Linked DNA regions of Homo sapiens: all the other regions are linked to region 1. Evidence: promoter capture Hi-C in 16 types of primary human blood cells and fetal thymus (Javierre and others, 2016). All regions are on one chromosome and are shown on one strand. Each heading gives the region's core, a stretch centred on a gene start or on the middle of the fragment in contact. The rest is flanking DNA. Distances are from core to core; before and after follow the strand shown. Region 1 overlaps SCN4B (sodium voltage-gated channel beta subunit 4). Region 2 holds the start of FXYD6 (FXYD domain containing ion transport regulator 6). Region 3 holds the start of ATP5MG (ATP synthase membrane subunit g).

Region 1 (3,910 bases), core at 1-2,500:
TCATCATCAGAAAGGGGGCTCCCTGCAGCTGCTCAGCCCGAAGCAGGGCTCACACTTTTGAAGGTGGTTTCTCCTCTGCCTTGGAGCCAGGCAAGCCGTTCTCCGTGTTGTCATTCCCCGAGGAGCTCACGAGACACTCCTTCCTGGAGAGGGAGAGAGAAGGGACAGTGGTGAGGAGAGGAGCAAGAGTAGGGGGAGAATTGTGGCAGGAGCCGTGGGCCCTGCACCCAGCCCTGTGCCTCTCCCTGGCCTTCTACAGAGCTAAGGTAGCCAGAGGCCATGTCACCTAACCTCTCTGTACCTCAGTCCCCTCATTTGTGAAATAGAGGTAGGGATGACCTTCTGCGTGGGGTTGCTGGAAGGAGAAATGAGCACTTAGAACAGTGCCTGCCATGTAGAAAGTTCTCAACTGGCCAGGTGCGGTGGCTCACACCTGTAATCCCAGCACTTTGGGAGGCCGAGGCAGGCAGATCACTTGAGGTCAGGAGTTCGAGACCAGCCTGGCCAACATGGCAAAACCCCATCTCTACTAAAAATACAAAAATTAGCCAGGCGTGGTGGCAGGCGCCTATAGTCCCAGCTACTAGGGAGGCTGAGGCAGGAGAATCGCTTGAACCTGGGAGGCGGAGGTTGCAGTGAGCTGAGATCGTGCCACTGCACTCCAGCCTGGGCAACAGAGCGAGACTCTGTCTCAAACAAAGAAAAAAAGAAAGTTCTCAATAAAGCTTAGCTGTCACCTAGTTGTCTCAACATGGCAGGAAGCAAAGGGCACCAGGTGCTGTTCTCAGGGGTCAGTTCCCAGGCTGTGCCACGCCAGGGGGAGGGGTCCAGGCCAGCAAGGAGTATGCTGAGGACACAGAGTCCCTCTCCCCAGGGCCCCCCAGGCCTTCCTCCCTGAGCTCTCCGTGACTAGAGGTATTAAGGGAAGAACAGAGTCCATGGAAGGGGCAGAGCAGGCAGTGGGTTTGGCTTCAAGGGTGACAGGTCTAGGCAGAGTTTGGTGGGACGGAGCAGAAGACAGGAGGAAGGAGAGATGGTGAGATGGGAAGACACCTCCCGGGAGGCGTTCCACCCTGACCGCTCTGAGCTGGACATGCTCCAACTTCAGTGTGTCCCTCCTCCACAGCAGCGCCCAGGCTGGGCACACAGAACTCCCCAGGGAGCACCTGCATCCCTCTGAGCTTTCTGCTCATGAAAATGGCCAAGTTTTTCACAGCTGCTACAGCCAAACTACATCCTACCCTCACCCTGGGCTTGGGCAGCTGGGTTTGAGGCCTTTGGGAAGGACTGAATATTTTGTCCTCATTAATTTCATCTTGCAATACCTAGTTCCTAGCTCCAGCCTATCAAGATCTTCCTAGATCCCTTTTTCTTCCAACATAGTTACTAGGCTTCTGGAAGTTGATAAATGTGACATCCCTAGTGTACTTCAAATGTTAGTAATAACAATGAACAGGTGGAGCCCTGTGGAATACACTAAAGACCTCTATTCGGATGGATCCATCTCTCTCTCTCTGTCTCTCTCTCTTTCTTTCTTTCTGTCTCTGTACCTAAGGCATAGTTAACCCAGCCAATTACGACCCACCGAACTGTATTCCACGCAGTCCATAATTCTCTACTGAGAACCTACTGGGTACCAGGCACTGTGTCGGAAACGTGCACTCTCCTAGGGCATGTGACATTAAACAAGTGATTGTGACACACTGTGGTAAATAACAGGATGGGGGATGTAGGAAGGAGGGACCCAACCTAGGAAGCCTCCTCATAGGAGTCAGGGAAGCTTTTTGGAAGTATACCTTAAACTTCCAAGCTTCTTTGAAACCAAGAAAGATGAGCAGGAAAAGAGAGAGGGTAAATTCCAGACAGAGGAAACAGCACCCACGTTTCAGAATCAATGGTGAGATGTTGTCCAGTACCTCCCTGTTCTTGAGAAGCCACTGTCTCTGCTGTAATGCAGGCATTCCCCGCCACTCCAAGGACCTCCCTCAGGCTTCCCTACGGTCTGTCCCCTGCCCCCAGGCTCTTCCACCCAATCCCTCCGCCCACCATGGCCAGATCCTTTCTTCTGTGCTCTCTGATCGTGCCAGGGCCCTGCAAGCCCTCGCCAGCTCCCCTGCCGTCGGAAGTCAATCACAGCCTCGACTCCCAGGTCCCCAAGTGTCTGTCCCCAACCCCTTCTGCAGGCTTTTATTCTCCTCCCCACCACCTCACCATACAGCTCTCTCAACAAACAAAAGGCTTGTTCTCCAGACAAGCCCACTTCCCAGACTCTCTGCCTTGGCTCTCAGTGGTGCCTCCATCTGGAAGAATCTTCCCTTTACTCTCCCCAGGGCTTAAGTTATATTAATCTTGCAAGGCCTGCCACAAACACCCATTCAGCCAGAAATCCTTCCCAGAATTTCACCCTGCCCTGAACCCCCACAGCAGCATCGTATCAAACCTCTTTGCTGGCACTGATCCCCTCTACCTTGTATTACATTTATTTGTATACACATTTATTTGTATCTTGTCTTCTTTAGTTAAAGGCAGAATCTCATTCCTTCCATAATTTCCTATAGCATCTGGCACAGTGCCTCAAAAACAGCCACAAAATGAACAGATAAATGAATGAACTCTAGATATGCCCAGTGAGTCAGTAGAACATCCTGGCAATGGTTTAAGCTTTGAAGCCAAATTAGTCACAGTTCAAATCCCAGCTCTATCACTTACTAGCTGTGTGGCCTTGGGCAAGTCACTTCACTACTCTGAGCCTCACTTTGCTCAATTGTAAAATAATAATTATGGGTAGTGTATAAAATTGCCTGGTGGAATTCCTAACATATGGTAGGCATTTGATGAATGACAGGAAGTGGTATTTTCCAGAGCAATCTCCTGTTCTGCCAGTGCCTTATCAGGAGACATCTAGCATTCCTTTTTTTTTTTTCTTTTTTCTTTTTTTTTTTAAGAGACGAGCTCTTGCTAAGTTGCCCAGGCTGGACTCAAACTCCTGGGCTCAAAGCATCCTCCTGCCTCAGCCCCCCAGGGAGCTGGGACTTCAGGCACACACATCCAGCTTAGCATGTCTTGTTTTTGATGAACCCACTGTGGCTCTGAAGGACCACCGTTGTCTTTTCTAAGTGCTTTTAAACCATATATTGACAAATTTGTTCTCCATCCATTGATAGTAAGACTGGTTATGAAAAACAGAACCTAATTAAGCTCCACGCTTTTAGCCCCTCTCACGATCACCAAAACCCTCACAGCCTCTGGCCACAAGGCAGGCAGACAACCCTTGAGCTCTTCATCGACAACCCAGTTCTGGGGTCCTCCCCTGCTCCCCAGCCCCAGCGCTGCTACCTGTATGGCCCCTCCCTACCTCCAACTTCCATCCCCTCTTTCTAGAGTAAGTTCTGCCCTTTACAGCAGAATTCCCTCTTCTCAGCAGAGCAGAATGTTTCAGCAAATAGGGGCAGAGGAGTTCTCCATTCTCTGCATCTCGTGGTTACCATCACCCTCTCTGTTCCAATGGGAAGCCATCTCGTCGCATCTGTCTTGCTCAGAACACAACTTTCAAATGCCTTTTCCCTGCTCTAGTTTTGCAAGATTCACCACATGCTGCTCTGGAGCCTGTCTGATACTGTTCCAAAAATTTGGGGCCTGAGGGTTGCACCCTCCGTACCTCCCCCATCTTCCCTCCCCTTCCCCTTATAGATGTCTATTTTTATACCTGAACTTATCCTAGGGCTCCCTGGGAGGCCATATCTGCCTTTTCAAACTTTTAAAACATCACCTCCATCTGAATTTTCAGAAATTCCTAACAGAAGAATTTTGTTCCCATCTCCCTAGAAGAGTTTTCTCATTTTAGAGTCTCTGTACATGGAATCTTACATTTTCACTGATTTTTTCAAAGGCTCCTTAAGTCCTTTGGTAA
Region 2 (4,220 bases), core at 986-3,485, 260 kb before region 1:
TTTGGAGGAGCCAGGGGGGAAGCAGGAAAACGTGCCAGGAAGAGAGGGTGGCCTGAACCCCAGGCAACGGCGGGTAGCCCTAACTTTCGCTTTCTTGACTCCTGTGGCCCCTCTCCTTCCCTCTTTCTGGTTTCCCTCCCCTTCCTGCCTCCCTGGCCTGGCCTCCTTGGCTTTCCTGGGACAGTAACCACTTTTCCTTCTCTCCTTTGTTAGGGCTCAGAGCCTCCGATGGTCCCAGAGCTGGCCTGATCCTCTGCTGGTGAGGATGACTCCCAGAGCCTCAGGCTTTCTCTGGGTCAGGGAAAAGAGCAGCGGCAGTGGAGAGATTGAAATTCTGGTCAGTGCCCAGCTTCTGGAGCCCAGCACCTGGGAATGGCTCTCGTTAACACCTGGAGCTCCGGACTGGGGCTTTGAGGAGGAGGGAAAAGGGCTGCGCCCACTCTTTATCCAACCTTCCCTTCCAGGTTTAGGGAAGGGGCTCCTCTTTTGAGGGAATCTGGCAGTGCCTTTCCCTCCACCTTCCTCTGCAGGGTTCCCAGGGAGATGTTAGGGTTTTCCTTCTGGGCTTCCTGAGCCTCCATCTCTTCCCCTCCACACCCCTAGGGAGGTGGCTGGATAAGGAAGGAAACTGCCCTCTCTCTCCCCTGCCTCAGCCCAGCCTGAGACTTATTTAGATGTACTGTGTGTGTGTGTGTGCATGCACAGTGCGCATGTAGGGTGTCAGTGTAGCATTGTAGCTGGTGTGTGGTGGTGCGGTATATATGCGGTGTGTTTGGTGTGTATGTGTGTATAGGTATGATGTATATGTATGTGTGGTGTGAGTGTGAGGGTGTGTTGATTGCGTAGTGTGGTATATGTCTGTATGTGTTTGTGGTGTTGGTGATGTGCAGTGTGTGTGAAGTGGGTGGTGTGAGTAAGGGGCCACTGCAATTGGGTGTAGGAGCCAGATATCTAGGTCTCCTAGCCAGGGATAACCAGTATCTAGGCAACCATACTGGGGGGAGGGGAGGAGATATGGAGGTGAGGAATGGGCAGGAGAAAGAGGGAGGCTGAGAAATGGAGGAGTTTCCATGGCAACGACCAGGCAAGTCACGTGCAAAAGGCTAAGTTGCGGACGTAGACATACACATCCATAATATGAGGGTGGCTGGATCCCCAAAGGGGGCTCCTTTCAGAGAGGGCCTGAGATGCCCACTGATCCATCTTCAAAGCTGGAAATCTTAGCCCAGCCAGACAGCACGAAGCCACAGAGACAAAGGAAGTAGTGGCAGAGAGCACACTGGTGGGGAGAAGCCTCCAGTAGCCACGGTCCCGCGAGCGTGCAGGCTTGCAGCAGGTGACGCGGCAGACCCATGTTTCCAGCGAGGCTGCTCCCAGCTCCCACCCTCGGGTGCCTCCTCTACCAGCCACCACTTGTAAGAGCCAGAAGCCAGCGCTGGGAGCTCCAGGCTGCACACCCAACTCTCCACGGAAGCCCGGGAGACACAATAGGGGAGGCTCTGCCAGGGCCAGCCCTGCTGGGGAAAGGGGGCAATGGCGGACCCCAGGGCCCCCCGGAAAGGAAACAGGATTGGATGGATAAGACAAGAAGGAGGGAAAAAATGATGCACTCTCATGAATCCCCGAGCGCTAGAATCCTTCTTTCCCTGCGCCCCCATCCTGTGCCCACTGCCCAGCCCCACCTTCCCCAAGCACCAAACCAGCAAGTTCCATTTTGTGTCGCTCATAAGTCCACACTCACACCCAGCCACACGCCCTCGTCCGTAATTCCCCACGCTCCACCAAGTGTCCACAGCTTCCAAGTAACAAAGGGAAAACTCCTCATGGATAAAGGGTGGGCGCAGCCCTTTCCCCTTCTCCTGAAAACCCTGACCCCAAGCTCAAGGCAGCACCGAGAGCAATTCCCAGCCACCAGCGTCACCCCCAGCGCCACAGCCTGCCTCCCCTAGAGGCTCCTCTCTCTTCCGACGCCGATCTCCTTGTTTACATCCCCAGCCCGGTTTCCCGCTGCCCAGGCGGGGACCGCGGCGCAGCTGACCGCGGAGGACCGCACACACCCACTGAACACACAAAACCCGGCGCTCCCGGCGCTCCAGAGATCGGTCCCCACCGAGCCTCGCCCCTCCTCGGAAAAAGGAGCCAACTTTGCCCACCTCCCCAGCCGCCTACCTGCACAGCCGGTCCCCTCCGAGACTCCCAGGAGGACCCGCCGAGTCCCGAGGAGCCTGGGAGTGGCGGGGCTGGGGGCAGGGCGGTGGGTGAGGCTTGAGCTGCTTTCCCGCCTCCCCTCCTCCTAGGAGTCGGGCTGGCTGGGAGGCGCGTCCTGCGGGGGCGGGGGGGGGGCTCGCTCGGGGCTGGGCTCGGGGACAGCCCACTCCGTGCTGCCGTCCGCTGGCTTCTGGGTAGCGGCCGCGCGCAGACCCCCTCTCCTCCTCTCCCTGTCCGTCCTCCCGCTCTGTGCTCGCGCGCGTCCTCTGCTCCTCTCTCCTCTCGAGGGGCGGAGAGATTTTTCCAAAGGGCAGTCAAGCTCCGAGAAGCAACAGGAGACTGCCGCCGAGGAGGCGTGCAAGCGCCGGAGCGGATTTGCCATCAGCTGTTGCTTTTCGGTTTCCCTCTGGTTAGGGTGGGAAGGGAGCAAGACAGGCACAATGACAGACCTGGTGTCTCTCTGCAATAGTAAACCCCGAGGAACGGAAAAATAGGAGAAAATAACCCAGCACCAGACACAGCAGCCCACGTTAATTGGGAGCCTTGGTAATTAAGGGGAATGTGCACCAAAAGCATGAATGGCTGTGTCGTGGGCGCAGGAGCCAGCTCCAGTTGTAGTTGTCATTTTCAGCTAGAGCCAGGTGGGGAGCTGGGGGGATGGTCCTTACCTGAACCATAGATCTGCTGCCTTGAACCCCCTTTTCAAGCCCCATCCACCTCTGGCCCTGCCAGGAGCAGTACCACCCCGTCCTCAGCCCAGTCCCCAAGAGTCAAAATTCATGATGACGAACTTTGAATGTGAAGATGTAAATAAATCCTGGCTCGGCAACCCTGCCTGTGACGCGACTTGGAGCATATCTCTGCACTCAGCTCCTGAGTCTATTTCCTCACGTGGGAAAATGGTGATTAGAGACTGACCCCATGGGAGGCTTAGCTCATAGTGAGTGCTCAAGAAATTGGCTCTTACTATTAGGGGCAGAGCTTGTAGGAAGGGGCAGAGGCCAGGCACAAGTGTCAGTAGCCAGGAGCCATGCTGAGATGGAGGCTGTCCAGCCTCAGTCAAGGTGTGTGTATGGCCGAGCCGGGTGGAGGGAGGAGCTACTGAGAAAGGCTGTGATTGTCCAAGCCTAGGTAGGGCCACGGAGAGTTCCTTACAAACCCCAAGCCGGGGATGATGGGTACTGCTAGGAAGAAACCTAGCCCTGCCTCTGCTGCCCTCAGTTCTGGGCCTGTTTTCTCATTTGGGAAAATAGGGAGATGGACTAGATGATCCTGAGGTCTCTTCCAGCTCTGCCCTAGATGATCTAATTATTTTAATAAAAGGTCAGGTCTCAAAACCCCAAGGCAGGAAATATACATGAACTCAAGAAGACTTTGGAACCAGTAGGGGAACCATAAATAGCTACTGAGAAAGAGCACCCAAAAAGCCTCCCCTCAGGGGATAGTTCTGGCCCCTTAATCATGGGACCTGGCTGAATGGATGCCACTCTGGCCCAGTCCTGAACTCCCTGGGGTTCCTGTGAATGCTAAAGCTCCTTCTCCAAAGCCAGACTCAAATCTTGCCTATTTGCGTGCCTAACCCTTTGCCGTTCCTGTCTTTTCCTCTATAAACTGAGGACAGCATTCCAACTGTCGTTTTCCCTTTTCATGTATTCTAGGTGGCAGATTTAAAACCACATCCCTTTCTAGGCCCATGTCCTTAGGCAGGTACATTCATCCCTCCAAATGCCCTTGAATCCTGCCTTTTGGCCATCTCTCTGTGCTTTTTAGAGCACCTACTAGTGATGACACGTCAAGCCCAGGCTTTGCAAGCCTATTTGGGAAAGGATAGTTCAGAACTCCAAAGCCAAGCCACCTTCTGGTTCAACCCCATTTCCAGCCAGAGAGTTCTGAAGTGTTTGGCCCAGTGACTTCCCAGGTCCCCCTACCTAATGCTGACCAGCCCAGGCTGCAGAGGGATAACAGGAACTAAATGTGCATGAGAAACCGCCATGGCTTAACTCTCAAATAGT
Region 3 (4,220 bases), core at 1,145-3,644, 260 kb after region 1:
CCTTTGTTATCACTTTATTCCAGTATTAAAAGCTAGTGGCAGTTTCAGAAATCCCCCTGAAAACTTAGAGGATTCTGACGTTTCACTTTTTTTTTAGGTAAGTAACATCAAATATGTGTGACCTGGCTGACCCAGCCTGCCTTACCAGGCCTCTGGAGGGGACCCTGGGGTTACCCTCAGGAGATGAATCTCACAGTATGGTTTTCCTAACCAGCTCTCTTTTGGCTTCACTGTTTTTCTTTATCTGGCCTGAACCCCAGGTCTTTGTAATCATTTGCTGTTATCTTCCCCTTTCTTGCTCCTTGTTTCCATACCCCTGCCATGCAAGATGTCAGCCTAGATTAACTCAGCCATTCCCCTCTGCTGTAATATCCAAACTGCAGACCATTGTTGGAGGAAAAACACAATTTTTAGAATGGTACAACCACAAACTTATCTCTAACGTTGCCCAACAACCCTTCTGTGTGTCCTTCAGCTATTCCAAACTTTGGCCTCCTTCCTCAAATTCCTTCTCATACCCCCCTCCCATTGACCCCTCACAGTCCGATGACTTTGCCTTCATTTTGCTGGGAAGATAAAGACTTCAGAGACTTTGAAGACTTTCAGACCTCTCTCCCATAATCACATCTGTGGAAAAGGCCCCATAGATCCCTGGCTAGTTCTCTTTTCCTGCCTCATCAGGGCTCTTGTCAATATCCCTTTTTATCAGGCAGGATGGCCTGTGCCTGTAATCCCAGAGCTAAGCAAGAGGCTGAAGTGGGATGATCTCTTGAGGCCAGGAGTTTCAGGCCAGCCTGGGCAATGTGGCAAGACCCCATCTCTAAATAAATAAATGACTGCCTCTTCTCTGTCTTCAATTTCTCCCCTGAGTTCCACATCCCCCTTTGGTTTTCTGACTTGTAATCCTTTACAGCCATATTTCTTCACCATTCACCCTGGATTCTATCCTAATTTTTTGAAAAGGCGCTAGTTAGTTAAAGATTGCCATATTGCTAAATTAACTTTCCCATCCTTAATTTGACTTTTCTGCAGTATCTAGGGCAGCAGAATCACTCCTTCATTGAAAAGTTCTTAGTTCCTTGATTACACTTCTAATTTTTCTTTCCATCTCTCTAACCATTCCAAAAATCGGAGATTTACTTCTGCTCAGACTTCCCCAGGTTACATTACTTATAGTTCTGTTCCTCTCATCAAATGCCACTTCCCTACATACATCTTTTCCTCCTCATATTAAACTATGAAGTTTCAGCCCTCTGTAGTATACAGCTGTTCTCTTACACATCGGCTCAAGGATCTTTTCTAGGAAGTATGCTGAAATCAGCACCATGCCTAATCTGATGGAATGCCCCCTCTCTGAGTATACATTGCAACTTCAGATCTCAACTCTGCCACTTCCAAACTGTGTGGCCATTTTTCAAGCCCAGTCTCAATGGGGACAATGCCTTACAGGCTTTCTTTAAATTCCAAAATGCCTGGCATAGTGTGGGCGTTCAATACAGGTGATTTTTTCCTCACATCTGCACAGCTCCTTGTGGTTAACTAGGGAATTAGGGGAAATGGATTCCAATCGTGATACAGCACTTTGGGGAGATTGGGATTACAAAAAATCAACTTTAAAAGGGCTATGGGGCCAGGCGCGGTGATTCACGCCTGTAATCCCAGCACCAAGGCGGGTGGATCACTTGAAGCTAGGAGTTCGAGACCAGCCTGGCCAACATGGTGAAACACCGTCTCTACTAAAAGTACAAAAATTAGCCAGGCGTGGTGGCGGGCGCCTGTAGTCCCATCTACTAGGGAGACTGAGGCACAACAATCGCTGGAACCCGGGGGACAGAGGTTGCAGTGAGCCGAAGTCGTGCCACTGCACTTCAGCCTGGGCGACAGAGCGAGACTGTCTCAAATAAAAAGGGCTATGGGTTGAGCCTGGTGACAGCCTGTGTGGTGATTGCTCGGCCCCTAACTTTATATGTTTGGCCTTGGACCCTCTCTACCTCTGTACAACGATCGTGTTGGACTAGAAGAATCTCAGCGAATCCTTCTCCAGTACTGACTTCAAAGGTTCTCAGAATCGCGGCGAAAGCACCCTACGCAAAATAGCGGAGGTCGGCGCCAAGAAAAGCACTGCAGGTTCAGGGCGCATGCGCATTTCCGCTCCTTGCCGGTTTTCCGGACCTCTACGAGTGGCTGCCCCACAAAATGCCTGCTTCTCTGCGGAATCCTACTGTTCTTCACATGCTCTCTAATACCATCTTTTCATATCCACTTTCTCTTCCATGTTGAAAAATTAAATTGACAGGCTGGATTCTGCAAAGATCTTTGGACATTTAAGTATCTTCGACCGGCGCGAAAAGAGGCGGCCTGACCTTGGAAGTGGGACGGGGTCCTGCAGCGGGTCCTTCCGGCGGGTGACATTCAGCCGGCGGTTCGGGGCGACGGACTCTCCATTCCAGAACCATGGCCCAATTTGTCCGTAACCTTGTGGAGAAGACCCCGGCGCTGGTGAACGGTGAGCGCGATGTGAGACCGCCGAGGCGGGCACACGGGCGGCAGGGAGGCCTGCGATGGCCTGAGAGGAAGAAGCGGGCTGCGAAGACCCGAGGGGCCTGCGGGTGCCGGGGCGGGATGGCCTGCAGGTGGAGGGAGCAGGAAGCAGGTTGGCGACTCTTTTCTAGCCTTCCACTCGTCTGACCTGCAGATTGGGTTCTCTACACAACCTAGAAGTTCCTGAATTCTAACCACGACTGGGAAGAGAGGTAGTGTGAAGGAAGCCCGGCGTTGCCCGGCAGCTGCAACCATTACGCCCCCTGAGATCGCTAAGAGCAGGGATCTAGAGGGGATGGTTCTGTTAGGAGAGCTAAGAAAAGGAAGGGCAGAAACGTGAAAGTAAATCAATTCGGCCTCATTACATGTGGTGTTGTTCTCAGTGGAGTATTTGGAAGTCAACAGAAATGTTTAAGGATGGGTGAGCTTTTTTGAACGTTGACTTTGCTTTCTGTCCTAGACGGATTCTAAGATACTTCCGCTTTAATCCGAGGGAAATTTTAGGTGGAAATGGACTTCATGGATGAGTATCCATGCCCCGAGAAGCATAGGACGGGATCCGTATAAACAATAATCTTTGTTACGAAGCTTAGCATTCGTGGAATTTTTTCAGCTTGAAGAGCCTCACTGGTAGACCGCTGTATTTCACAACAACCCTGAATAATCACAGCCTCTGAGTACTAGTTTATTTGGCCAGTAAATATTTCAGTTGTCTTCTCAGTGGCAAGCTATTCATTTTATTCCTGAAGTGAGATAAGCTAAATTGACGTAAGTTTTTCCTAGATGTGCTGTATTCCAGTAAGTGACTGAAGGTCGGATCTCTTAACTTTTGCCTACGTTTATGAAATGTGAATAGAAAGCAGAACTTCAAAAAAAATGTAATACTTTCTAGCCTATTTTGCTGTGTTTGAGTTTGGTTTGGGTATTTTCTTTTTCTTTCTTTCTTTTTTTTTTTTTTTTTTCCTAGAAGACAGGGACTCACTCTGTCGCCCAGGCTGGAGTGCAGTGCAGATCACAGCTCACTGCAGCCTCCACCTCCTAGGCTCAAGCGATCCTCCCACCTCAGCCTCCTGAGTAGCTGGGATCACAGGCACGCACCACCACACCCAGCTAATTTTTGTATGTTTTAAGAGACGGGATTTCACCATGTTGCCCAGGCTAGTCTCTTAACTCCTGGGCTCAAGGGATCCTCCCGCCTCGGTCTCCTAAAGTGCCAGAGTTACAGGTGTGAGCCACAGCGCCAGCCGGGTAATTTATCCATTCTCTCCTCCCTTCCCTCCATCACCAGCCAAACTATGAGTTATTGAAGGCTGTCCTGCAGAACCTCACAGCCTACTAGTGAAACATTTTACACATTTTCCCAAATAATTTCATAAGCTTGCAAGAAAATCTTTTACTTTACTAAGATTGTTAAGATACCTGTCATAGAGCTCTACAATTTTATATAAATCAAAAGAGATGGCCCTGCGGCGGTAGCTTACGCCTGTAATCTCAGCACTTTGGGAGGCCAAGGCGGGCAGATCACTTGAGGGCAGGAGTTCGAGACCAGCCTGGCCAACATAGTGAAACCCCATCTCTACAAAAAATACAAAAATTAGGCAGGCTTGGTGGTGCATGTCTGTAATCGCAGCTACTTGGGAGGCTGAGGCAGGAGAATCGCTTGAACCCCGGAGGCGGAG

Evidence for each region. The method cuts DNA at HindIII sites, captures the fragments that hold promoters and counts their contacts. A CHiCAGO score of 5 or more calls a contact.
Region 2: the fragment with the promoter of FXYD6 here is called in contact with a fragment that was not itself captured in region 1 in 3 of 17 cell types (naive CD4 T cells, activated CD4 T cells and naive CD8 T cells); the score reaches 5.8 in naive CD4 T cells.
Region 3: a contact is called between the fragment with the promoter of ATP5MG here and a fragment that was not itself captured in region 1, in 1 of 17 cell types (neutrophils). The highest score is 5.3, in neutrophils.

Annotation. Positions count from the first base shown.
Region 1 is chr11:118,136,978-118,140,887 of GRCh38, forward strand. SCN4B (sodium voltage-gated channel beta subunit 4) reads right to left here. Exons shown (of 5, transcript NM_174934.4): 5 at 1-143. The coding sequence ends at 50. Among named protein-coding and RNA genes, the nearest start is that of SCN4B, 14 kb to the right of the region's middle. The HindIII fragment of the contact is 1,055 bases long and covers 724-1,778 here.
Region 2 is chr11:117,874,423-117,878,642 of GRCh38, forward strand. It overlaps FXYD6 (FXYD domain containing ion transport regulator 6), which reads right to left and starts at 2,236. Exons shown (of 8, transcript NM_022003.4): 1 at 2,170-2,236. It overlaps FXYD6-FXYD2 (FXYD6-FXYD2 readthrough), which reads right to left and starts at 2,236. Exons shown (of 10, transcript NM_001243598.4): 1 at 2,170-2,236. The HindIII fragment of the contact is 14,206 bases long and covers 1-4,220 here.
Region 3 is chr11:118,399,212-118,403,431 of GRCh38, forward strand. It overlaps ATP5MG (ATP synthase membrane subunit g), which reads left to right and starts at 2,395. Exons shown (of 3, transcript NM_006476.5): 1 at 2,395-2,506. The coding sequence starts at 2,455. The region is part of intron 3 of LOC100131626 (a long non-coding RNA gene); the gene reads right to left. RefSeq lists enhancers at 2,056-2,135, 2,256-3,119, 3,578-4,168. The HindIII fragment of the contact is 3,431 bases long and covers 1-3,127 here.